Linked DNA regions of Homo sapiens: regions 1, 3, 4, 5 and 6 are each linked to region 2. Evidence: promoter capture Hi-C in human tissues and cell types (Jung and others, 2019). All regions are on one chromosome and are shown on one strand. The core of a region is centred on a gene start or on the middle of the fragment in contact, and the rest is flanking DNA. Distances in the headings are between cores, read along the strand shown.

Region 1 (4,253 bases), core at 1,605-4,104, 540 kb before region 2:
AAGCCTTTATTAACCTTCTCTGCCAATGTAGTTTCCATACAATCTGGTTTTTTGTTTGTTTGAGACACGGTCTCACTCTGTCGCCCAGGCTGGAGTGCAGTGATGTGATCTTGGCTCATGGTAGCATCAGGCTCCCAGGCTCAAGCCATCCTCCCATCTCAGCCTCCCAAGTAGCTAGGACTACAGGTGCATACCACCACACCCAGCTAATTTTTGTATTTTTTGTAGAGACGAGGTTTTGCCACGTTGCTCATGTTGGTATTGAAATCCTAAGCTCAAGTCATCTGCCTGCCTTGGCCTCCCAAAGTGCTGGGATTACAGGCATAAGCCACTACACCCAGCCCCCAATCTGCTATATTATCACTTTGTATTGCAATTTGTTTTTCTCTGTCTACCACTAGACTGTGGTATTTGTAGAGACAAAAACTATATCTTCTTATTTCTATCCTTCCCAGAGTCTAGTATCAGTAAATATTCAAGAAATAGTTGTTAAATGTATGATGAAGGCTGGGTGCAGTGGCTCACGCCTGTAATCCTAGCACTTTGGGAGGCTGACGTGGGCAGATCACCTGAGGTCAGGAGTTCGAGACCAGCCTGGCCAACATGGTGAAACCCTGCCTCAACTAAAAATAAAAAATTAGCCGGGCATGGAGGCACACGCCTGTAATCCCAGCTACTTGGGAGGCTGAGACAGGAGAATCACTTGAACCCGGGAGGCAGAGGTTGCAGTGAGCCGAGATTGTGCCACTGCACTCTAGCCTGGGCAAAAAGAGCAAAACTCCATCTAAAAGAAAAAAAAAAAAGAAAACTGTATAATGGGGTGGAAACATTTGCAGAGAACCAAAATGCACTATCGTTACTTTTTTTTTTTTTTTTTTTTTTTTGCTGTTTGGAACCGATAGGTCTACTATCTACCACCACCCCCACATAAACCTGGAGCCCAAAGAAAGTATGCTTTATTTTCCCCCCTCTTCCTATTCATCAGCTTTTTATCCTTCCATCTCATAAATAACAGTAAACAATACAGAAAGAATCCCTGCCCTTTAAAGGGCTTATATTCAAGTAAGGAGAGGCAATTAATAGGGAAACATACATATGGTCATTTCAGATAGTGATGAATGCAATGAATAAAATAAAGCAGTTTGACGAGACAGGATGTGCTAGAGAAGAAACGTGCTATTTTAAATGAGAATGAGGAACAAGTGATAGAATGTTTCTCTGAGAAGGTAAGACATAAGCTGAGGCCTAAAGGATGAGAAACAACCCACTACGCAAAATTTTAGGGAAATAATTCTGCAAGCAGAAGGAATTGCAAGTGTAAAGGCTCTGAAGCAGAAATGCACACGGTTGGTCAGGTGTGGCGGCTCACATCTGTAATCCCAACACTTTGGAAGGCCAAGGCAGGAGAATCGCTTGAGGCCAGGAGTTCAAGACCAGCCTGCAAAACATCATCTCTACAAAACATTTAAAAATAAAAAAATTAGCTGGGCGTGTTCTTATGCACTAGCTATTAAGGAGGCTGAAGTAGGAGGATCGCTTGAGCCTGGGAGTTGGAGGCTGCGTGAGCTATGATCATGCCACTGCACTCCAGGGCGGGTAACAGAGCAAGACCCTGTCTCTCAAAAAAAAAAAAAGAATAAGAAGAAATGCACTTGGCTGTTTGACAGACTGTGTGTCTAGGAAAGGAAATTAGTTTAGAGAAGCAGAGCTTTGTAGGTGGTAGCCATGATGTAGGCTGACTGCACCTGCCTTGACTTTGGAATTTTGTAGTTTACAATCTTCTCCTCGCTAATATTAGAACAAGAAAATGACGGAATGGGGTATGCAGCCCACTCTATTGTCAGGAAGATGCCAGATAATTCTGAAAGTATCTTTTCTAGATACAAGGCCATAACAGTATGGTCCCAGGGCTAATGAAAACTTGATAAGCAGAGAAGAGTAAAAGCACATGAAAAGAAAGACAAGTTCTTCTGACTACAGGCAAGTCCAAATGAGAAACATCAAAATTATCTCAGATTCAAAGAGGAAACAAAACACAATACTACTCTGAAAATATATATGGGCTATAAATGTATGCTTTTAACTGAATGAATTTTTCCCTTCCCACGTAAACTTATAATACAAATCTAGACTTCAGTGATTAAACAGATTTCCACTTTTAATTCACCAAGGTTTTTCTTCACTTTCACAGAAATGAAACAATTGTCTGATGTTTTGAGAATTCAAAGATTTAGATGCTTTAGAAACTGCCTCTTAGCAATCATTTTATGGATGTTTATGTCATAATTATTTAATCCATCCAAGTAGTACTGTGATGTTACAGTCAATTTATGACATAAAGAAATATTCACAGAACTATTCGTTAAAGCAACTCTGTGATTGCTAGAAAGTAAAGCAGTAATTACACATCTTACTCGTATTGTAAGTAGCATCTGCTGGCTTTGGTAACCCGAACACAATTCTAAATATAAAGATCCTTTCATTATCCTAATTAAGTCCTGAATTTCCAGGTTGTCAGCCTTCTAACAGTAAAAATAAATCCATTCTCATCATTCTTAAATTCAAATGGTCTCTGGCTAGTATAGTGATGTTTCTCCAAGGCTCTCTATGGGGGATCAGAGATAAGATTTTGTCCATGTTCTCTATGCAGGACCATCACAAGTAGCAGAGGTGGTCAGGCGTAGTGGCTCAGCCTGTAATCCCAGCACTTTGGGAGGCCGAGGCGGGTGGATCACTTGAGGCCAGGAGGTCAAGACCAGCCTGGCCAATATGGCAAGAGCCCGTCTCCACAAAAATACAAAAAAAAAAAAAATAAGCTGGGCATGGTGGCACATGCCTGTAAGTCCCAGCTACTCTGGAGGATGAGGCACAAGAATCACTTGAACCTGGGAAGAGGAGGTTGCAGTGAGCTGAGATCGCACCACTGCACTCCAGCCTGGGTGACAGAGCAACACTCCATCTCAAAAAGAAAAAGAAGTAGCAGAGGTAACAAACATAATTACATTATGTTCCCACCCTCCCACCACTCCCCCCAAAGGGCCAAAGTTTCTTACAATGAGTCTTCACATTAATCCACAGTCTCAAGAGCTATGAAGGAAAAGAAAACACTTTAGCCTAAAAGATGACCTTTCCACATTCTCCAGGCTAATTTCCAACTTCATATATTTATACGGCCTTTTATTTTCTCTATCCCACTCATCAAGGGAGAGCCATTAAAAAGTATATAAATGGCCGGGCGCGGTGGCTCACGCCTGTAATCCCAGCACTTTGGGAGGCCGAGGCGGGCGGATCACGAAGTCAGAGGATCAAGACCATCCTGGCTAACATGGTGAAACCCTGTCTCTACTAAAAATACAAAAACAAAATTAGCCGGGCGTGGTGGCGGATGCCTGTAGTCCCAGCTACTTGGGAGGTTGAGGCAGGAGAATGGCATGAACCCGGGAGGCAGAGCTTGCAGTGAGCCGAGATCGCGCCACTGCACTCCAGCCTGGGCGACAGAGTAAGACTCCATCTCAAAAAAAAAAAAATTTTATATATATATATAAATACCCAATGTACCTTCTTCCCAATCTCACATTTTTAGACAGATTAATTTTGTCATTATTTTCCATCTCACCCATAAATTCATAATTGAAATAGAAAATCCATTGCCTTAGTTGGGAAATAAAATTGCCTAACTTCTCCTTGGAGTTCTAACTTAATTCTAATGCTGGAAACTCCAGGAAGAAACGCAAACAAATTATCTTTTGGAAAATTTCTCCAAACAGGATGTACTGTATATCCTTGCAGACTAAGCCTGGGTATTACTGAGTAAGGATTTACTCTTTTCTTTTCAGGGGCAGAGTCTGAATTAAACCAAGGCCTTATGTCCTTCTTAAAAGACCAACAGCATCTGCATCACCTGGAATTTGTAAAAATATGCAGAATTTGGGGCTCCACCTCAGACATCCTAAATCAGAGTCTGCATTTTACTGATATCTGTATGCAACTCTATGTTCATCAGAAAATCTCAGAACTGGTAGAAAACTTAAAAGCCCATCGCACACACATAAAGAGAGATGAGCCTTGGATAACAAATAATTGATAATGACTATAGTGCCCCTTCACAAATTATTTCTTAACAACAGGTTCTCCTTAAGAAAAATTTCTTGTAAAACTATAAACGGCTTGTCTTGAAACACACCAAAGCTTATCATAGGTATTGTTGTTAGTAGAAGTCACTGACATAACCAAGTGCTTACCTAATCTGAGCT
Region 2 (4,488 bases), core at 800-3,299:
CTCTCTCCCTACAAAGGGCTGCTTCTGTGTAACAAAATGAATTTCCCCAGGGTCTCTGGTCTGCTGCAGGTGGAGCATGAGTTTCCAGATACAAGATCTTCTGAGTCCTTGATCATTGGAGTAGAATGCTGCACAGCTCTGCAGATTGAGGGAGTAAAACCATGTGGTGGCCGAAAGAGGTTGCTACATATACAGACTATCTCAGATCCTCAGCCTCAATTTTCCTTCATCTTTCCTTCCTTCCTTTCTTTCTCTCTTTTTCTTTCCTTTCTTTCTTTCTCTTTCTTTCTCTTTTCCCTCCTTGCGTCCCTCCCTCCCTCCCTTCTCTCTCTCTCCCTTTTTTTTTTTGACAGAGTTTCACTCCTGTTGCCCAGACTGGAGTGCAATGGCGTGATCTCAGCTCACTGCAACCTCCGCCTTTCGGGCTCAAGCGATTCTCCTGCCTCAGCCGCTCAAGTAGCTGGGATTACAGGGATGCACCACCTCGCCTGGCTAATTTTCTATTTTTAGTAGAGACGGGGTTTCTCCACGTTGGTCAGGTTGGTCTGAACTCCCGACCTCAGGTGATCAGCCTGCCTCAGCCTCCCAAAGTGCTGGGATTACAGGTGTGAGCCACCGCTCCCAGCTCTTTCTTTTCTTTCCTTCCTTCCCTCCGTCCTTCCTTCCTCTCTCCTTCCTTGTTTCTTTTCTTTCTTTCCTTCCTTCATTTCTCTTTCTTTTCTTTTTCTTTCTTTCCTTTTTTCCTTCCTTCCCTCCCTCCTTCCTCTCTCTCTCCTTCCTCTCTCTTTCTTTTCTATTCTTTCTTTTTCTTGACCAGTGTGATAATATCAGCCTCAATTTTCTTCATTCCTTTAGCTAAAGGATCCCAGGCCTAGGCATGAGGGAGAAGTGTACCTGCATCTCCTTCCCCCTTGGCCTGGGAGCCCCAGGCTGCCCTTTTCCGTACAGGGCTGGAAGTAGCCTGGGAGCCTGAGGGCTGGCAGAAGGCCGTGAAAGGGGAGCTTGGTCGCTGGCACAGCCGCTGCTATGGCAGCCAGAGCCGAAGAAGGTCACCATTGATCTCACATGCACTTAATTTTCCCTTCCTTGGCATGGGACGGGGTTGACCAGGAGAGCTAAGGGGGAGTATGCGTGTGTGTGTGAGAGGGGAGCGGTGCTGCAGGCTGCGATGCAGCCAGTTACTTTCTCTCTCTGGGCCTCAGTTTCTCCAATGTAAAATGAGGGCGCATGGTATAACTAAAATCATTACTCTCTGCTGGTCCCCACACTCCCACTCTCCAGTAAGGCTGTCAGGGCTGCAAGCTCACCGCGGGATCGGGGGGATGGTCGACCCTCAGATACGGGAGGGATTGAGCGATGCCCAAGGAGAGCAGGAGAACACTGCGCTTGGAGACCCCTGAGAGCCAGGGGCGGGCCGCCCCCTAAAGGGACCCCGGAGTCCCGACTCTCAGCTCCAGCTCTTCCTGTGACACCACCCTCCGGACAGAGACCCAAGCTCCAGGCCCGGCCCCGCCCAGAGGTTCCAGGGAGAAGACCAGGCCACCGCCCACTGCCCGGCGTCGGGGAGGAAAGAGGAGGAGCCTCTGTGTGCCCACATCTCTGGCCGCCCAGGGCAGCTCGGCTCGGTCTCGCAACCCCAGCCCACTGGTTCGGGAGACCTCAAAGGCTCCACCGCCAGCGCCCCCAGCGCTCACTGTGTGCGCCCCACCCCAGCCCTGCCTGCGCGCCGCTCCCGCCACCCTCGCCTCAGTCTCTGGGCCGGAAGCCCCCTCTCCTCCCCCGCCGCAGCCCCCTCCTAGTCCCTCTCCCTCCGCCGATGCGGGAAACCTTCTCCGCCCCGTCCCGCCCTCTTCCTCCAGTTGCATCTCCGCCCGGCTCCTCCGTCCAGTCTCCAACCCAGGCCCCGCCCCTCCCCACCCATTTCCCGCCCTGGGCCGGGCCCCCGGCCCCACCGCCCCCTCCCCGGCCCCGCCCCGGCCCCCGGAAGCCTCACCCCGCCCCCGGCCCCGCCCCCCCGAAGTTTCTTGGGCCCCCGGCAGCCGGCGGGACAGAACGCGGAGAGTCGCCGCCTGGCCGGGCGTAGACGCGGTGGCAGAGCCCGCGCGGCGCTGGAAGCGAGTGGCGGAGCGGCGGGACCTCGGCGGACTCGCCATGGAGGAGGAGGTGAGGGCGGGGCCCGGCGGGGCGTTGGGCTGGGGTCCTCGAGCCCCTCACGGGGATTGCGGTCCTGGGCTCAGGCCCTCGTTCCTGCCCGCCCCACTCCCGCCAGTCTCACCTCAGGAAGAGCCTGGGCAAATGGGGCAGGGGCGAGGGGCTGGATCCATATCGGGGACTTCGCAGACCGCGTCCTCCTTCATTCTCGCTGACTTTCTCACCAGTTGTGGGGCGTCGTGGTTGTTACCGTTCCCATTGGATTGACCAGGAGACTGAGACTCCAGCGAGATTGATGACTTGCTGAAAGTGGCCTGGGTGACTGGGCTCGAACCCCGATTACCGTGGTCGGATCCTGACTCTCTCTCTCTCTCTGTGTGTGTGTGTGTGTGTGTGTGTGTGTGTGTCGGATCCTGACTGTGTGTGTGTGTGTATGTGTGTGTTGGGGGGTTCCTGTCTCAAGGATCGGATCCTGACTCTGTGTGTGTGTGTATGTGTGTGTTGGGGGGTTCCTGTCTCAAGGATGTGACCATGCTTTGGTGGCAGGAGGATTGGAGAAGTTGCTTTTTTCTCCCTTGTATAAGTCTCTGTATCTTTTCCCCCACTCTCTCCCCGCTCCACATCCATCTGAGCAGCTAGCTGTAGGGAAGGAATCGGGAGTCCGGCCCACCTAGGGTCTGATCTTAGTCCCTGCCTTCCCCACCCGAGGGCTGGACCAACTGTGTCCCTGGAGCCTCCTTCTAACCACTCAAAACACTCTTGGCCTGGGATTGGGTCTTGCCCCTGCCCCTGCCCTTTACTTGCAAACTCAGTTCTGCCAGCAGCCGCTTTATCCGAGGGTCCAGCACGCAGCAAGCACTTAATATATGCCTGTGGAATGATTAAGTTAAAATGAGGGGCCTGTTGGGTCTAGAGGAAGGTGAATTTGTTTCTTATCCCCTGAGGGGGTCCCAGCTTCAGCCCCTCTCAGCCCAAGGGAAGGGGCATGTCTTTGCCTCCTTGGATGGGGAGGAAAGATGAAGTTCTCTGCCTTGGGGGAACCCTGGCCAGCTGGGAAGCCCTGAGTGGACCGGACTGCCTGTGTCCCTTCAGTGCCCACCTCCCACTTTTCCAGGGCCATGGATAGGAGCAGCTAGTGGTCCGTCAGGGCTCCCTCTAGGCCAGGCCCTGCCTTTCTGTGGGATGGTAGATAAGTCACTTCCCCTCTCAGCCTTCATTTCCTCTTCTACAAAATATAGTGCCTGTCCTCCTCATACTCCTGGCCTGACAGTGGCCGGTTCTCTCAGTGGGTGAAGGTAGGGGGCAAAGTCAGGCCTCTGTGATTTGCTGCGGTTTCTTTCTGGCTGTTAGGTGGGGCTGCCATCTGCCTGCCCCAGGCCCCTGCTGCAAGGGCTGGGCTCTCTGGCCAGGGCCCCTCCCCTGCTCCCAGAGGATGTGGGTCAGGATTACTCCATCTCCTGATCTGCGCTGGCCCCTGATTAAGGGAAGTTCTCCGGACACCTCCTGGGCCCGGCTCAGCTCTGTACACCCTTGGTCCTGAATCTCTCACATTGTCACTTTCTTTTCTTTTTTTTTTTTTTTGAGACGGAGTTTCGCTCTTGTTGCCCAGGCTGGAGTGCAGTGGCGAGATATTGGCTCACCGCAACCGCCACCTCCTGGGTTCAAGCAATTCTCCTGCCTCAGCCTCCTGAATAGCTGGGATTACAGGCATGCACCACCACGCCTGGCTAATTTTGTATTTTTAGTAGACATGGGGTTTCTCCATGTTGGTCAGGCTGGTCTCGAACTCCTGACCTCAGGTGATCCGCCTGCCTCGGCCTCCGAAAGTGTTGGGGTTACAGGCATGAGCTATTGCACCCAGCCTATATTGCCACTTTCTGACTCCTAGATGCCCAAAGCTCTCTAAATATCTGGGCCATCTAAGTTCTTGTCCACTTTACCCAAGCCCCTGCAAGCCTCACCCCCACAGCAGGGGCTTCCTTTCCCTACTCCCCTTTGGCATCCCTAACTCTGCTTTCCTCCCACTTCTCCCAGTAGCTTCCGCTTGTTGCACTAGGCCTCAGTGCCCATCTTTGTTTCTCTAAAACACCTCTTAGGTCATAGCCACATGCTCTGCCCCATGATCCCAGGCCATCTTCATCATCTCTTTCACATGGCTGCTTTCAGCCCTCCTGCTAGCTTTCAGCTTCCTCCCTGTGCCCGGCCACCCTGGGCCAAGGTCCCTCAGCCTCAGTGACCTCCTCTATGCAACGGGCAGGCTGGTAGCTCTTGTCAGGCTGAGGCTTGGGGAGGAGATGCTGGTCTGGGCACTGGGCATCTGCCCACCTGTGTGCTCCT
Region 3 (4,413 bases), core at 874-3,373, 870 kb after region 2:
ATTTTCTTTTTAGTTTATACAACACTACTCTGAACGCTATGATAGGCAGCTATAATTATTTCTCCTCAAAACATTTTAAAAACATACATAAGAAAACAACATATAAAGACTAAATGACTAAAGTCACAAGTATAATAGTCAAGATTAAAGTACTTCTGATTCCCAATGTAGTATGTTTTTCCTAGTACACTATTTTCCTATTCATAGTGAGAATCACTTCTCATTTTTATATGACACATTTGGTACATATTTAACAATCAGTAAGGCCAATTTTATGTTAAACTAAGAACTGAACCAATTTATGAATATCAAGGGATGAGTTGTATTTTGGCTGTTGTGTTAAAAAAAAAACTCACTGATTTTCTTTCACAGTCACATAAATTTGAAAGTGATGGACTTCTTTAAATAATCTTAACGTTACAAATTGTTGTGATCATATATAATAAAGCTTTTATTTCTTCCTTTTTTCTATTATCATGGCCATAACATCATGGATACTATATACCTATTTAAATACAAATTTACAGGAAAATTTAAGCACAGTATAAGTAACTTCTTCCCTTAATCTTTGAGAGTAAGCTGCTGAGCTGATGACCCATCATCACCCCTGAATACTTTTATACTTCCTACAAAGACATTCTCCTACAGAAATACAATCATCTGGGAATTAACATTGATACATTATTACTGGAAATCAACACACTAATACATTACTACTACATACTCCTCAAACCACATTCAAGTTTTGTCGATTAACCTAATAATGTTATGCCAAAAGGATCTAGTTCTTAACTAAGCACTGCATTTGGTTGTCAAGTCTTCTTACTTCACTTTAGACAAGTTTCTTCTCCATTTTTACTTTATTTTCTTAACCTTAATACTTTCTAGATTACAGAATAAGTATTTTGTAGAATATCATTTAATATGTGTTTGGTATTTCCTTGAGATTATATAGGTCATACATTTTTGCAGGAATATTACAGAATTGATGTTGCATTCTCATTGTAACCTATTAGAGGAACACAATGTTGACTTGTCCCGTTACAGATGATGTTCATTTTGATAACTTGATTAAAACGGCATTTGCCAGGCTTTTCCACTATAAAGTTACTCTTTTCCCTTTTGTCATTAATATGCATTTTGTGGGAAGGTCCTTAATAACTATGTAAGATCCTGCTTCTCAGATGACTTTCAGTTGATTGATATCTGTGTACACTCATGGTTTCTTATTTTACTCAATGGGCTAATCTGTTACTAACATTTGATGCTCAAATTGTCCTAGATTTGCCTGTGGAAATCCCTTCAAATTGACTTCTGTGTGTGTATTTTGTTGTAACATGTCTCATCATTCTTAGAGCAATTCTTGGTTTTCTAGCACAAGATACTTTTGGGCTTATCGCCTAATAATGTCCTTGCCCTAAACCTGGGGCTGGCCATTTCTCTGAGTCCTGATTCTTTTAGTGGAGAATGGTATTTAGAAGTCAAAATCTATACATTAGGTGTGCTCATTGCTTTTGGGGTGTGGCTGCATCCAGGTCCTCTCAATGTACAGAGGTAGGGAATATATGTATATATACACACAGACACATATACTTACATCTACATTTATTTCTGTATCTATCATTGAAAACCAATGATATACAGCAAATCTCCAATTCTATTCCAACACTATGGGGTTCATTTTAGTTTTCTTCACTTCTGTATTTGTAAATCTCTTCTCTCAATAAGAAACTTTATTATCTTTGGCCGGGTGCAGTGGCTTATGTCTGTAATCCCAGCACTTTGGGAGGCCGAGGCGGGCAGATCACGAGGTCAGGAGATCAAGACCATCCTGGCTAACACAGTGAAACCCCATCTCTACTAAAAAAATACAAAAAAATAGCCGGGCATGGTGGCGGGTGCCTGTAGTCCCAGCTACTCGGGAGGCTGAGGCAGGAGAATGGTGTGAACCTGGGAGGCGGAGCTTGCAGTGAGCCAGGATCGCGCCACTGCACTCCAGCCTGGGTGACAGAGCGAGACTCCGTCTCAAAAAAAAAAACAAAAAAAAAACCCAAAAACTTTATTATCTTTAATATACTTATTTGATCAATCTCCCCCATATGTAACATTCTCCCATCTTCACCACCACCCCTCTCCCACACAGATGACTTCTTCACCTTAATGTGGTTTTGACAACCCCCTCCAGACCAAATCCTGCCCCACCATGCTGGCACCTCTCTCATCTATATGAAATTCTGACATCTCATTTGCTTCCCTTGCTATCCCCATGAGGACACTCTCCTCACCCTGCTCAGACTCTGACACTGCATGTTGTGCTCACCTTTGTATGAATGCTCTTCTCATCCTGTTTAGGTTCTGACACCCTGTAGCAGTCTGCCCCTGAACATGGATACCCTCTTTAAACTGCCTGTCCTCTGATTCTCCATGTTAGACCATGCCTCTCCAGGAATACTCTCCTTACCTGGCTTGGGCTCTGACATTCCAGCTAGGCTGTTCCTCTCTCTCCACCCTATTTAGGTTTTGAAACCCCTCTCTGGACTACCATCCTACTACCTCCTCTCTCTCCAGCATGAATACCTGCCTTGCTCTGTCCTACCTAATGATATTAGGACTGAAGGGAAAGGTTTCATACATAAATTTAAAATTACAGAACTAATTAATTTAAGCTACGAACTCATTCGCAATTGTAGAAATATTCAGGTAAAACATTTATTATACTTTCACACCTACTTTCAGCATGTGATAACCCATATCAGACAAAAAGGAGAGGTGAAAATCACAGACGTTCAAGTTGGAGGTGCACAGGCTGGCAAAAAATTCCTGGTTTTGTAAGTGGACAGGGAGGGTTAGGACTTGATTGCTACAATAAAACTTATGATTACAATTACCTTGTAGTAAAATTCTACAAGGTAATTGTAAGAGGTGCATTCTATAATTTCTAGCAGGCTACCAAAACTTTCATTTAAGTGGTCAACGATGAAAATGAAATTAATTTCAATTTCATTAAAAGCTGTACATAGAAACTATAACTCATAACATTTATAACAGTCACACAAAATAAGTTAGGGCATTGTAGATGTACTGTTACTTACTTTATCTACACAATCATCAAAAAATGCCAGGCTTGCATCTTTGTCACTAACAAAAGAACATTCTTCAATGAAGCGAATAAACATTTGTGTTTTGGTCATCATGTTATAGAATTTTTGATGTGACCGGTCCCGGCTTCTTAAGAAAGCTGTTCAACAAAAATATATAATGTCAGAATACATAATATCATTCATAGATTCACAGAATATTTGCACTAGAAAGAATCTGAACAACCATGTCATCTATACCTCCCACACCACTACCATTTCGCAAGTGCTGAGAGGGAAAATGACCTGACAAAGAAATAGGAGAATAGTAATAAAGGAACATAAACCCAGATCTCTCAAATCTTCATCCAGAACTGTCTCCACTGTTCTCTCACCATCTTAAAGATTATAAACTAGTATATTTGAAAATTGCTCTCTTTTCCCCTAAAAGCTTTGCATATTATGTGCACATACTTGCTCTCACACTCTCTCCATATAAATATATATATCATATATATATAAATGGCTTTCTCAAAGCAGCAGTAACATTCCCTCGTATTCATTCATGTTTGTGTCTTACTTATTGAAAACAGAGAAAAGGTTTATTTCCTGATTCACCTTACTAATTATGCTCAGTTACACTGCACTTGGGCCTTCTTTCAGGCCCAGGAATTCAAGCTCTTTCCAGTCTCAGGGACTGTGTAAACTGTTCTCTCTGCGTAAAACACTCTCCTACTTTACCTTTGTCTGGCTAATTTCTTTCTTTTTTTTTTCTTTTATTTTTCTTTTATTATTATTATACTTTAAGTTTTAGGGTACATGTGCACAATGTGCAGGTTTGTTACATATGTATACATGTGCCATGTTGGTGTGCTGCACCCATTAACTCATCATTTAACATTAGGTATATCTCCTAATGCTATCCCTCCCCCCTCCCCCCACCCCACAACAGTCCCCAGAGTGTGATGTTCCCCTTCCTGTGTCCATGTGTTCTCATTGTTCAATTCCCACCTATGAGTGAGAACATGCGGTGTTTGGTTTTTTGTCCTTGCAACAGTTTACTGAGAATGATGATTTGCAATTTCATCCATGTCCCTACAAAGGACATGAACTCATCATTTTTTATGGCTGCATGGTACTCCATGGTATATACGTGCCACATTTTCTTAATCCAGTCTATCATTGTTGGACATTTGGGTTGGTTCCAAGTCTTTGTTATTGTGAATAGTGCCGCAATAAACATACGTGTGCATGTGTCTTTATAGCAGCATGATTTATAGTCCTTTGGGTATATACCCAGTAATGGGATGGCTGGGTCAAATGGTATTTCCAGTTC
Region 4 (4,275 bases), core at 545-3,044, 630 kb before region 2:
GTGGAACCACACTCGGCTAATTTATTTATTTTTATTTTTTGTGAAGATGGGATGTCGCTATGTTGCTCAAGCTGGTCTCAAACTCCTGGCCTCAAGCAAATCTAACATATCAGCCTCCCAAACTGCTGGGATTACCCATGTGAGCCATTGCACCCAGTCCATGCATTCATTTTGAATTTGCCAATTATGGTTTAGTCTCAGATTTCTTTTTTCTTTTTTTTTTTTTTTTGAGACAAGGTCTCGCTCTGTTGCCTAGGCTAGAGTACAGTAGCATGTTCTTGGACACTGCAGCCTCGCCCTCCTGGGCTCAAGTGATCCTCCCACCTCAGCTTCCTCACTAGCTGGGACTACAGGCATGCACCACCATCCCTGGCTACTTTTTGTATTTTTTATAGTTACTGGGTTTTGCCATGTTTCCCAGGCTGGTCTTGAACTCCTGGGCCAATCAAGCAATCAACCAGCCTTGGCCTCCCAAAGTGCTGGCACTACAGGTGTGAGCCACCACACCTGGCCCATCTCAGACATTTTATGTGTTTATTTTTCAGAATCAAGTTTAGGGCTTTATCTGAATAAACTACAGAAGCAAGACTAAGAGGCTACCTTCAACTTGATTGTGCTTTCTTTGTACAGAAAGTAAAACCCAAGAGAGCCAGAGAAAGCCACTCAGCTAACTCAAAATACAGAAGTGCAACATGTTTAACTATTGCCTTAAATTATAGGGAATTTGCATGAAAAAGAATAGTAGTCTACAGGGTAGATGAAGAAAGAAAAGGCAACTTTTTAAATAATGATTTGATGGAGGTTGTAAAAAGATGGTTACTAATGGGAAGGAGAGGTACCCTGACAGAGATAAATAACATAAAACTGAGTTGGTATACAACAATTGAAACAATCTTAAAAAGAATGAAAACAGCATGACCATCAGAATCCTTTGTCTACATGGCTTGTCTGAAGTTTGCAATAAAATATTCATAATTGAAAAAAAAAGCAGTTATACAAAAACAGTTTGTTGACACAACCTAAGGATGCACAAATGAAAAAGAGAAAAGAACAAGGAGAGTTGAGTGGAGGCCTCCCACAAAGCAGGGCAGATAGAGAAACGACTCTGCAGTTTCTCATACTGTATCACACCTACTCATTGCCTCTCCATTTTTATATCCACTTCCTGTAACAAGAAGCCCCTTGGTTATTAAAAATTCACTGGACAAATGTTTGAATTTTAAACAGTTGAGCACTAGAGGGCGAAAACTCTCCACATTTTCAATATTGATCAGGCCTACAGAAAAAAGATTTCACAGCAAAATAAATTATGAGATTAATATATTTTTAAAACTCACTGGAATAAGTAATAAAGTAACTTTTCAAATCCTGAGAACTATGAAAAAGAACTATAGAATATGGGACAATAGGAAAAATAAGGGTTCCTAAATCAGGAAGGGTACCTAAATAAGGTACCCAAAATAAGGGTACCTAAATCAGCTCAACGATTTAGGTATCTAGATCTTGGTTTATCCTTTCCACTAATTTAATCCAGTGAAATTAAGCATGGTCAAGTCACCTACTTTGGGTCTCAGTTTCCTCATCTGAAAATAAAGTGTTCAATCTGGGGAGAATTTGAAAAGTCATTTTCCAGCTCTAAAATTCTAAAATAATCTGATAACTTAAGCCTTTAGGGCCTTTCAGGAAAAAAATAAGAGTGAAAACCAGAGCATGCTTTATTTTCATACGACTTTGAACACTCCACACTTGTCCAATTCATTATTTCTACATGCCCTCATTTTTTCATGCAGCATATTTTCATTTTCAAAGAAGAAAGGTTTCCAATACCAGTGAGACCAGCAGGACACAAAATTCTTCAATTCTTCTGATTGGTTGAAAGGTGTGCTTTCATCCAATCAGAAAGATGTGCTTGGTTTACATGCATAACATCCCTGATTTTAGGTTAAATATATTTGTTGAAGGCAGGGAGCAAGGTAACCCAGTGTTCTCACCCTAATTTCAACCATTAAATAATATAAATTGGGCTTCTCAGTAAAAGCTTAATCAGTGGGAAGGTGGCTACTATGGTCTGGATTTCTGTCCTTCCCCCGGACCCCCCAACACACACAAACCTCACGTTGAAATTTGATCCCAATGTTCGAAGCTGGGCCAAATGGAAGGTGTTTGGGTCATGGGGGTATATCCCTCATTAACTGATTAACGACCTCCCTTAGGGATGAGTTCCCAAGAAAGCAGGTTGGTGAGAAGAGCCTAGCACCCCCCTTCCCATGTGATCTGCACATGCTGGCTGCTCCCCTTCCCCTTACACCATGAGTGGAAGCAGCATGAGGCCCCTGAGGCCCTCACCAGATGCAGATGCCAGTGCCATGCTTCTTGTACAGCCTGCAGAACCCTGAGCCAAATTTAAAGGTCTTTTCTTTATAAAATGACCCAGCCTCAGGTATTCCTTTATAGCAACACAAAATGGACTAAGTAAGTGTGGCTACTCTGATGTGGCAACTAATGCAAGGTTTAGGAGGCTTCTTCTCTTGTCCTCCTCCTCTGTAAAATTAAGAAGTGATTTTCTCAAAGCCATTTGAAAATACACATCTCAGTCATTTCTTCTTTGCAACACAAAAAAATGCAACACATTTAAAAACCAATAGCATTAGAGTTCCTACAAAAACTTCTATCGTTTGAGGCATGGGAAAGAGTTTAAAAAGCAGTGACAACTTTCTTTATGTATTCTCTGTAATGCAGAGAGCACAAAATATGATGACAGGTTAGATTTGACCTGAAAAACTCTGGTACTCAGTAAGCCAAGTCTGGGGGTAAACTCAAAAGTCCCGGCAGGAATGGCAGTACACCAAGAGATGAAACAGACTGATGCACAGTAGATGCTTAAAACAGATTTTGTTGAATAAATAATAATCGGGATAATTACAATATGGACTGATATTACTATTATCAGGCATTATGCTAAACATTTTACATACATTATCTCATAGAACCATATATTACAGGCATAATTATCATACCCATTTTATACATGAGATAACCGAGGCTGAGGGAAGAAGGTTATTGGATCAAAATTACATAGCTATTAAGAAAGAGCGCCAGGATTTGCATCCTTTTTCTTAACCACTACTCTGTATCTTATACAAACATAACATGAACACCCATCCCTTGTCTGTTCTTGTCTTTCCTCTTAAGAACAATAAAATTAGTACACAAATGGCTGAGCCCAGGAAGTGGGCATTAAAACAACTTCTAGAGTTTGTCAGTTAAACCACATAATCTTAAGTTTATTATTTAAGATACAGTTTTTGTTTCCTTGTAAAATGGAAAATTACTTGTCATTGTGAAGGAAGAAGGGGATGCTGAGCACTATGCAAGAGACCTATGTCAGACATGGTGCTTTCACATATATTATCCATTCAACCCTCAAAATATCCCTGTGAAGCATTACCCTCATTTTACAGAGGAGTTTCAGTGAGATTAAGTAACTTGTCCAAAGTAACGCTGATAGTAAGTACCAGAGGACCTCTAGTCTAATTTTAAAGTATTACATTTACTTAAGTGAGGATTTCCATGTGGTTACTGAAAAAATCTTGATAACATCATAATTTCAAATCGAATTGTATCATACTACTTTGTAATGCCATTTTTTACTCTTCACTATCACTTGAATTCCTCAGGTGAATAACCTGTGTAGTTTACTCAATGAGGGAACTTAGTAGATATTACATTAGTCTTTAAAATACTTATTAATGTGCAGGCCAGGCATGGTGGCTCACATCTATAATCCCAGTGTGTTGGGAGGCTGAGGCAACAGGATCTCTTGAAACCAGGAGTTTGAGACCCGCCTGGGGAACACAGTGAGACTCTATCTCTATAAAAAAATTTAGAAGTTAGCTGGGCATGATGGCATGCGCCTGTAACCCTAGCTACTGAGGCTGAGAAAGATCTCTCCAGCTCAGGTGACTGAGGTTATAGTGAGCTATGATCACACTGCTGCACTCCAGCCTGAGTGAGAGTGAGATTCTGTCTCTAAAAATAAAATAAATATGCTGGGCACGGTGGCTCACACCTGTAATCCCAGCACTTTGGGAGGCCGAGGCAGGCAGATCACTTAAGGCCAGGAGTTCAAGACCAGCCTGGCCAACATGGTGAAATCCCGTCTCTATTAAAAGGACAAAAATTAGCCAGGTGTGGTGATGCATGCCTGTAATCCCAGCTACTCGGGAGGCTGAGGCAGGAGAATTGCTTGAACCCGCGAGGCAGAGGTTGCAGTGA
Region 5 (4,394 bases), core at 520-3,019, 590 kb before region 2:
AGAAGCAGAAAAGAGGCCAGTAGTCACCACTGAACTGCATATAGGACCTAGAAGGCTTTGTGACCTTTACATGTTTGTTAGAAAAGGTACTGGGAGACAGACCAACGATGGCCAGCCTACCTGACTATGAGTCAACAGTTGGCCTAACCAGTACAACAGAGCCCTCCTATTCCCACTCATGACAATGATGGATATACCAGTCTCAGAGATTCCAGTTTTTCCTTGCTGCTTAAGTGAAAAGCAATTTGTATAGTCACCTTTCCTCTAATGCCCTCCCTGTTTACTCCTCGCTTTCAGTGCACAGAGAATGCTGAAACTTCAAGAGCTTGCAATTTTCTGTATTTGGGAAGAGTACCAACCCAGCAGCACAGATGTTATTCCTACCTAACAAATACATTAGATTTTTTTTGGCTCTATATTGAAAAGGGAAGATTGGTCTGATTTGGTGGATCTATTTGAAAGGGCTTACAGAGGAAATCCTGAAAACTGGCCTGTCCACTTCCCCACTTAAACTTCTAAGCTGGACTGGATTAAGCATGTTGTTACCTGACCCTTGGATTTATGAGACATATACAAACATGCTTATCATAAATGGGCTGTGACAGTCTTTTCCCTAAAACTTATGAAACCTAGAATAACTTAACAACATTATAAAACCAGGAATGTAAGAGGAACAACAATTAAAATGTAGTCCTGGGGCATGTGGGAAGATAAGCCTCAAGTTATGTATACACCCTGTGAACTCAGTTGCCAGTCTTAAATCTTATGCCAAAAACACTCCAATCAATTAACAAATATATACTGAGAGGCTACTGTGAGCAAGAATTCATATTAAGTTCAATGAAAGACAAGTCCATTGTGGGCTCCCTGGGTTATAACTATAGCTGATTATTGCTATAGTCAGGGTATAATAAAACTTGAATAACACACAATGACTCATATAATTCTAAATATTTTAGGATGCAGAACTCAAATTCCTTCAGTAGTACCTTCATAGGGTTACTTGAAATAGAACAAACAGTATGATGGCTCATGCCTGTAATCCCAGCATTTTGGGAGGCTGAAGGCAGGAGGATCACTTGAGCCCAGGAGTTCAAGACCAGCCTGGGCAACATGGCAAAACCCCATCTCTACTAAAAATACAGAAAATTAGCCTGGTGTGGTGGTGCATGCCTACAGTACCAGCTACTCAGGAGGCTGAGGCAGGAGAACTGCTTGAGCCTAGAAGGCCCAGGCTGCAGTGAGCCGTGATCGTGCCACTGCACTCCAGTCTGGGTGATGGGAGTGAGACCCTGTCTCCAAAACAAGAAAGAAAGAAAGAAAAAAAAAATAGAAACCAAGCTTTAGTCATTCATATAAAACCTGTCACAGTGAAGGGGGCATAAAGCAGAGGAAATTCTACTAATGTCAAATAGTGAAAATAGCTCTGAAAGATTTCATCTTCTGAGAGACTTGTCCCTACAGGTAAACATTAGCAAAACATTTTTCTGGAAGCCAGTAAGATATTTGAGAAATTAGAGCTTTTTGGTAAAAACAAACATTTTTTACAGTGATTAACTTAATTTTTAAAAATTGCCGAAGGTCATAGGTTATTACAATCATATGGATAGCTCTTGCAAATTAATGAGGACAATGGATAAAATGACGGTTCTGTAATATTTCAGAATGTATATTTTAGTATGTCTTCAAAACAGATAAACCATCTCAGTATGGTAAAGTATATTTTGCAAATTACCAACATTTCCTCCTTTCTTTTGGTATAAGTAAAGAAAAGAGAATGAACTGCTGAAAAGCAAATCCTTCACACTATGAGTATTTGACAAGTGGAAGGCATCTGCAGGTTGGTCTGTGGGCATAGTCATAGCAACACAGTTCCCCTGTCAACTCAACTCCAGGAACCAGAGCGCAAGTAGCTTTGTGGTTGACTATGTTTATTTACCTATCCGGCAAGCAGGGGAGATAGATGGTTTGGTAAAAAGGGCAAACCAGACAAAAAAATTTGTATATTTTAGGGCTTCCAGCTAAGATACATACTAAGTAAGTGGAGAGAAAAGACTTGACTTACCTGCACTGCCAAGCTGTTTATAAAATCTGTACTCTAAATGAAGCTGTGGAGCACGTGATTTTATTGGTTCCTGAAATCCAAAAAGAAAAACTGTGATCAGATTTAAACAAATGGGATTTTTCCATTCTTAAATTTTTGGAGTAAACGAGGGCTAAGATCACCCAATGTTTTAGAGATAATATCCATATATAAGAGCCTTTTCTAACCACAATTGGTCTTGGACAGTATAGCTAAGAGAAGATGAAGGTGAATTACATACAAGTCCTTCCATGGATAGTTAAATAAAAATAGACTTTGCATGAGCTATCATTCAAGGATATCTTTCTTGCAATGAAATATTCTCCTGGAATGTATTCTGCCAGGAAACTTGATGCCAAACCTTTAAATAAAAAAATACCAGAATGTATTTCCTGCTTGTTTTGTTCAGAATTTTGGGTGGTTCATGGTTTTATTATTTTTAGAAAAATAATGCATGCTCAGAAGAAAATTCAAATATACAAAAATTAGGAAGAAAGTAAAAATCATCTGTGATCCTGTCACTTTAAAGAGAGGCACTATTAACATTTTAGTGAATGTCTTTCAAAGTATTTATTTATCTATATATGTATTAATATATATAATATAGACTAATGAACTTAATTTTATATAAATGAGATTATAATATATTTGCTGTTCATTAATGTGCTATTGAATTCAACAATGTAATAACATATTCCCATGGCGGTAAATAAACGTGTATAATTTCTTTTTTTTTTTAAGACAGGGTCTTGCACACTGCAGTCAAAACCTCCCAGGCTCAAGTCATCCTCCTATCTTAGCCTCCCGAGTGGCTGGGACCACAAGTGTGTGCCACCACTCACAGCTAATTTTTAATTTTTTGTAGAGATAGGATCTTACTATGCTGCCTAGGCTGGTCCCAAATTCCTGGGCTCAAGCAATCCTCCCACTTCAGCCACCCAAAGTGCTGTGGGATTATAGGCATAAGCCACTGCACCTGGCTTATATTATTTTAATGGTTTGAGTATTGCCCTGTATGTGGATATGTATTTATGTATGTATGTATACACACCCTCCCCATAATTTTTGGACACGTGAACTGTTTTCATTTTCCAATATTATGAACAATGCTTTTAGGAACATCCTTATGTATATTTCTTTTTAAACTATTGAGAATTAAAGATTGTAAATGCAATTAAAATATGTAACTTCAATCAATGTGGTGTTCAAGTTTCCAAAAATGGAGTTTTCTAAAAACCTCAGAGATAAAGCAGCCAAACAACCATACTTTGCTCTATACCAATTGAGCAACTGGCTGGCTGATTATTCTAAACTGACAGTGTACTGGGCAACTGGCTAACAAGAAAACCAAACATTACCCTAAACACATTATAATCTCTCTTTAAAACCTCAACAGTAGCTGACATGGTGGCTCATGTCTGCCAACCCAGCACTTTCAGAGGCTGAGGCAGGAGGATCACTGGAGACCAGGAGTTTAAGACCAGCCTGGGCAACACAGCAAAACCTCATCTTTACAAATAAATAAATAAAATAGGACGGGCATGGTGGCTCATGCCTGTAATCCCAGCACTTTGGGAGGCTGAGACGGCAGAACTGTTTGAGCCCAGGGGTTCGAGACCAGCCTGGGCAACATAGGGAGACCTTGTCTCTACCAAAAATTAAAAAATTAGCCTGGCAGGGAGGCACGCTCCTGTAGTCCCAGCTACTCAGGAGGATGAGGTGGGAGGATTGCTTGAGTCCCAGAGATCAAGACTGCAGGGAGCTGTGATTGTGCCACTGTACTCCAGCCTGGGCGACAGAGTGAGACCTTGTCTCAATCAATCAATAAATAAAATAAAGCTCAACATCTGCACACCCATTAGGATGGCTATTATCAAAAACAGAAAAATAACAAGTGTTGATGAGGATGTGGAGAAACTGGAACCCTTGTGCACTGCTGATGGGAATGCAAAATGGTGCGACCGCTCTGGAAAATGGCATGGCAATTTTTCAAAAAATTAAAGACAGAATCATTATGATTTACAATTCTATTTCTGGATAGATGCTCCAAAGAAGTGAAAGCAGGAACTCAGATTTATTTGTACATCCATGTTTATAGCATTATTATGCACAATAACTAAAAGGTGGAAGCGACCTAAGTGTGCATAATTGGATGAATGGATAAACAAAATTGGGTATATACATAGGGTGAAGTATTATTCAACCTTAAAAAGGAAATTCTGACACATGCTACAACACGGGCAAACCTTGAGGACATCATGCTCAGTGAAATAAGCCAGTTACAACGGACAAATATTGAATGAGTCTACTT
Region 6 (4,713 bases), core at 1,506-4,005, 610 kb before region 2:
ATCTCATGGTCATCCTGTAAGGAAAAACAGGGGAAGTACTAAAGACCCCATTTTACAGATGAAATAAAAACCCTGAGAAATATTGTGTGAAATCTCCTAGGTTCCCAAATAATACAACCAAATCTCTCAATTCCAGATTCACTGTTCTCTTCTCTACACTAAGCTGCCTACATTCTCTTACTCTCAATGTTCTTTTTCATCTGTGTTGTTGCCAAAATTATTCTCCATGCTCCCCAACCCAACTCTTCCAAACCCTATGTCCTGCCCTTTTGGTTAACATTTTCTTTTTCCACCAATTCTTTATCACCTTTCCAGTACATAAATCCCCCACTATGCTCCACAGGCAGCTTGATTTGTCCTACTCACCCTTTTGGCTTCCCTTATTTTTAATTTTTAAGAAATTTTCTTGCCCTCTCCCCCATTATTTTAAAATCAGCTCCACAAACACTATCTTTTCACCTTTCCTGTCCACCTCTCTGTGGTTCTCAAGCCTTGTCAATTCCAGTCCCTGGTCTTGAACAGGAACCACCTGGGGCATTACTTTTTTAAATTATAAAAGTGATAAACAGACAGATATAGCATGGATATCTATATTACCCATTTTTAGACAACCAAACATAACAGCAAACCAAAAGCAGTAAAAAGCATATAAAGAAAAGGTATTCACACCCGGGCACGGTGGCTCACGCCTGTAATCCCAGCACTGTGAGAGGCCGAGGCAGGTGGATCACGAGGTCAGGAGCTCCAGACCATCCTGGTGAAACCCCGTCTCACTAAAATACAAAGAATTAGCTGGGCGTGGTGGCGCACGCCTGTATTCCCAGCTACTGGGGAGGCTGAGGCAGGGGAATCACTTGAACCCCAGAGGCGGAGGTTGCAGTGAGCCAAGATCATGCCACTGTACTCCAGCCTGGCAACACAGCAAGACTCCGTCTCAAAAAAAGAAAAGAAAAAGAAAAAGTATTCACAACCACAAAGGCACATGATTAAGAACAGTGTACTGCAACTTCATTTTTAATTTAATACTATAGCATGGGCCAGACATGGTGGCTCACGCCCATAATCCGAACAGTCTGGGAGGCCAAGGCAGGTGGATTGCTTGTGCTCAGAAGTTCAACACCAGCCTGGGCAACATGGTGAAACCCCTGTCTCTACCACAACTACAAAAAATTAGCCAGGTGTGGTGGTGTGTGTTTGTGGTCCCAGCTACTTGGGAGGCTGAGACAAGAGGATCACTTGAGCTTCAGAGGCAGCAGTTGGCAGTAAGCTGAGATCATACCGCTGTACACCAGCCTGGGCGACAGAGTGAGACTCTGTCTCAAAAAAAAAAAAAAAAAAAAGAAAAAGAAAAATACTACAGAGTGGATATTTTTTCTTATCAACATATAGACCTACCTTATTCATTTTAATAGCTACATATTAATAGTAGTATAATAGTATTCCACCATGTAACATATCTGTTTAACTTTCCCCCTACTGATGGGCATTCATGCTGTTTCCATGTGTTAATTAGAAATATATATTATAGTGAACACCTATTGCTTTTGCCTGGTCTGCATCCTTTTGTTCCTTCTGATAACACCACCTTATTCTTACAGTGGAAAGTACCATTTCCCCAGTGTTACTTCATGTGGTTAAAGTGGGGGCAACCCATCTCCCACTGACATCCCGAGGATGCCACAAGCCCAATTACTCAGAATACTCTATCTGCCTGCCTGGGAAAACTGGCTCAGGAATGGGTGCCATGTCTCTCATGTAACAAGAGTCAACTCTAGGACTTTTGTGGAACTATAGAGAAGGAGGAGTATTCTCTCTCTTTCTCTCTCTCTTTCTCTCTCTCTCTCTCTCTCTCTCCCTGATCGCTAAACTGAAAGCAGCTCAGCCTGGAGTTGCCAGGGACCACCACATGGAGAAAGCCTATTTGAGAATGAAGCTAATGCAGAGAAAGAAGAGGTGAGAAAAAAAGAGAGGCAAATGTATCACATACCTATGGACCAAGGACATTATTAGTCCTGTATCTGGATGGCTTGAAGTGAGAATGCTTTTGACTTCTCAGTTCTGTGAGCCAAGAAATTCTCCTCTCCCTCTCTCAAGTGAGCTTGAACTGGGATTCTACTCTTGGCAAATAAAAGCATCTAGACAAATAGGCATGCAATACTACAAAAAAAAATCCTTAAGCCTATATTTTTGGGCATGTTTGTAAATTTTTTTTTTTTTTTTTTTTTTTTTTTTTTTTTTTTTAAGACAGAATCTCACTCTGTCGCCCAGGCTGGAGGGCAGTGGCGCGACCTCGGCTCACTGTAACTTCCACCTCCCGGGTTCAAGGGATTCTCCTGTCTCAGCCTCTGGAGTAGCTGGGATTACAAGCATGCGCCACCGTGCCCGGCTAATTTTTATATTTTTAGTAGAGACAGGGTTTTACCATGTTGGCCAGGCAGATCACCTGACGCGCTGGGCCTCCCAAAGTGCTTGGATTATAGGCGTGAGCCACCATGCCCTGCCCGGTAAACATATCTTGAATGTTAATTCCTTAAACAGGAAATGCTGAGTCAAATGCTTGCATAGTTAATATTTTAGTATATAGTGCCAAATTGCCAGTTTTGGTTTTTTTTTTTTAAGTCAGGGTCTCACTCTATCACCCAGGCTATAGTGCAGTGGCACAAACCATGGCTCACTGCAGCCTTGACTTCCCAGGCTCAAGCAATATTCCCACCTCAGCCTCCCGAGTGGCTGGGACTTACAGACGTGTGACACCACGCCTGGCTAATTTTTAATTTTTTGTTGAGACAGGGTCCCACTAGGTTGCCCAGGTTGGTCCTGAAGTCCTGGGCTCGAGCAGTTCTCCCACCTCATCCTTCCCAAACTGCCAGAGTTCTAAATCTTCTTTGGTCCCTATTCTGACTCTAGGCTTGGGCCTATTTTCAACATTTAGCACGACAGTCCCCATTACTTGAGTACTCAGGTCTGTGAGGGTATTTAAAAATAAAATGGCAGCCGGGTGCAGTGGCTCACGCCTGTAATCCCACCACTTTGGGAGGCCAAGGTGGGTGGATCACTAGGTCAGAAGATTGAGACCATCCTGGCTAACACGGTGAAACCCCGTCTCTACTAAAAAATACAAAAAAATTAGCCAGGCGTGGTGGTGGGTGACTGTAGTCCCAACTACTCAGGAGGCTGAGGCAGGAGAATGGCATGAACCCAGGAGGCAGAGGTTGCAGTGAGCCGAGATTGTGCCACTGCACTCCAGCCTGGGTGACAGAGCGAGAATCCGTCTCAAAAAAATAAATAAATAAATAATAAAATAAAATAAAATTGCAGGTTATATTCCTTTTAGAACATTAATTAAGCCTGGGCATGGTGGCTCACACCTGTAATCTCAGCACTTTGGGAGGCTGAGGCAGGAGGATTGCTTGAGGCCAAAAGTTCGAGACTAGCCTGGGCAACATAGGGAGACCCCATGTTTACAAAAAATAAAAAAATTAGTTGAGCGTGTGATGTATGCCTGTGGTCCCAGCTACTCAGGAAGCTGGGGTAGGAGAATCTCTTGAGCCCAGGAGGTTGAGGCTGCAGTGAGCTGTGATGACACCACTGCACTTCAGCCTAGGTGACAGAGCAAAACCTCATCTCCAAATATATATATATTATATATATATTTATATTTTATATTTATATAAACATATATATATTTGGAGATGAGGTCTTGCTCATATATGTATATGTATATATATATTAGGATATATATATATATACACACACACATATACATATATATATTAGGTGCTGTGCCTATCTTGTTCACTACTGTATCCCTAAGACTTAGCTTAGAATAGTACTTAACCCAAGTGGGATGCTCAAGAATATCTCTTTAATAAATGCATGAACAGAGACATAGCAGCCTCTGGGACTTGGTTTATTTTTTGTACTTGGAAAGCTTTCCTTACTCTTCCATTTTTATATGTTCAAATAAATCATAGTCGTTTTTTAAAGCTCAGCCCCATACATGCCACTCTCTCTATAAAACCTTTTCTCTTTCTCAAAATTAGAAACCATTTTTTCTTTCAGAACTTCCTCATTTTATATGCATTTTAAAAATATATATAACATTCTACTGTTTTAGCTTGTGTTACAGTTACTTACCATTATTGTCCTACCATTAACCTCACTGTCCTAACATGAACATACTGTAAGCTCAGTAAATATTACATTTTCCTTCCAATGACACTCTAGTGTACTGAAGGGCAGAGATCATCTTATTTATAATTCTTTGGCCCTCAAATTACCCAGCATAGTGGTAGCTATAAACACAGTGATGTGTAGTGTTTTGTTAGTGAAAACTTCATCTCCTTGCATTATCACTAATGTAGAAGAGATTACCTACAGGCTGGCTTTAAGGCAATATGAAGTATAAAGAAAAGAAAATGCAGAAAAATGTTAAAAGTGTGTTAGACTGCTGAAAGCACAAGAATGCAGAATCGTGCAGATCTGACAAACTCTTCTTTTAATGGATGGAATATAAATTACTTTTGTAGAAAGAAAATGACAATATAATTGTCACAAATGTTAAAAATTGATCTTTTTATTGGTTTTTGTTCCAAGCACACTTACAAATAACTTATATTCTCAAATAGAAAAGGGCTTAGCTAGCAGCTAGATTACTATTATGATAGTAGGCACAAGGAGTTATCTATCTTTAAATAGTTTGTTACTGGAACT

The links. Contacts are between HindIII fragments. The study calls those that stand out against the background at their distance.
Region 1: a contact is called between a fragment that was not itself captured here and the fragment with the promoter of PLEKHO2 in region 2, in 4 of the 25 tissues and cell types used here (IMR-90 fibroblasts, bladder, dorsolateral prefrontal cortex and 1 more).
Region 3: a fragment that was not itself captured here is called in contact with the fragment with the promoter of PLEKHO2 in region 2 in 1 of the 25 tissues and cell types used here (adrenal gland).
Region 4: a contact is called between a fragment that was not itself captured here and the fragment with the promoter of PLEKHO2 in region 2, in 2 of the 25 tissues and cell types used here (liver and pancreas).
Region 5: a contact is called between a fragment that was not itself captured here and the fragment with the promoter of PLEKHO2 in region 2, in 1 of the 25 tissues and cell types used here (heart right ventricle).
Region 6: a contact is called between a fragment that was not itself captured here and the fragment with the promoter of PLEKHO2 in region 2, in 1 of the 25 tissues and cell types used here (sigmoid colon).

What each region holds. Positions count from the first base shown.
Region 1 is chr15:64,296,078-64,300,330 of GRCh38, forward strand. CSNK1G1 (casein kinase 1 gamma 1) reads right to left here. Exons shown (of 12, transcript NM_022048.5): 2 at 4,242-4,253. Among named protein-coding and RNA genes, the nearest start is that of CSNK1G1, 58 kb to the right of the region's middle. The HindIII fragment of the contact is 7,582 bases long and covers 1-4,253 here.
Region 2 is chr15:64,839,866-64,844,353 of GRCh38, forward strand. PLEKHO2 (pleckstrin homology domain containing O2) reads left to right here and starts at 2,050. Exons shown (of 6, transcript NM_025201.5): 1 at 2,050-2,163. The coding sequence starts at 2,152. LOC124903508 (a long non-coding RNA gene) reads right to left here and starts at 291. Exons shown (of 4, transcript XR_007064682.1): 1 at 1-291. RefSeq lists silencers at 1,573-1,892, 1,903-2,342 and enhancers at 2,150-2,673, 2,706-3,257, 4,306-4,488. The HindIII fragment of the contact is 9,878 bases long and covers 1-4,488 here.
Region 3 is chr15:65,712,386-65,716,798 of GRCh38, forward strand. DENND4A (DENN domain containing 4A) reads right to left here. Exons shown (of 33, transcript NM_001320835.1): 14 at 3,093-3,238. Among named protein-coding and RNA genes, the nearest start is that of MIR4511, 4.7 kb to the right of the region's middle. The HindIII fragment of the contact is 4,650 bases long and covers 1-4,413 here.
Region 4 is chr15:64,208,677-64,212,951 of GRCh38, forward strand. The region is part of intron 6 of CSNK1G1 (casein kinase 1 gamma 1); the gene reads right to left. Among named protein-coding and RNA genes, the nearest start is that of PPIB, 48 kb to the left of the region's middle. The HindIII fragment of the contact is 4,963 bases long and covers 1-4,275 here.
Region 5 is chr15:64,249,447-64,253,840 of GRCh38, forward strand. CSNK1G1 (casein kinase 1 gamma 1) reads right to left here. Exons shown (of 12, transcript NM_022048.5): 4 at 2,066-2,135. Among named protein-coding and RNA genes, the nearest start is that of PPIB, 89 kb to the left of the region's middle. The HindIII fragment of the contact is 3,241 bases long and covers 150-3,390 here.
Region 6 is chr15:64,227,699-64,232,411 of GRCh38, forward strand. All of the region lies in intron 4 of CSNK1G1 (casein kinase 1 gamma 1), which reads right to left. Among named protein-coding and RNA genes, the nearest start is that of PPIB, 67 kb to the left of the region's middle. The HindIII fragment of the contact is 8,680 bases long and covers 1-4,713 here.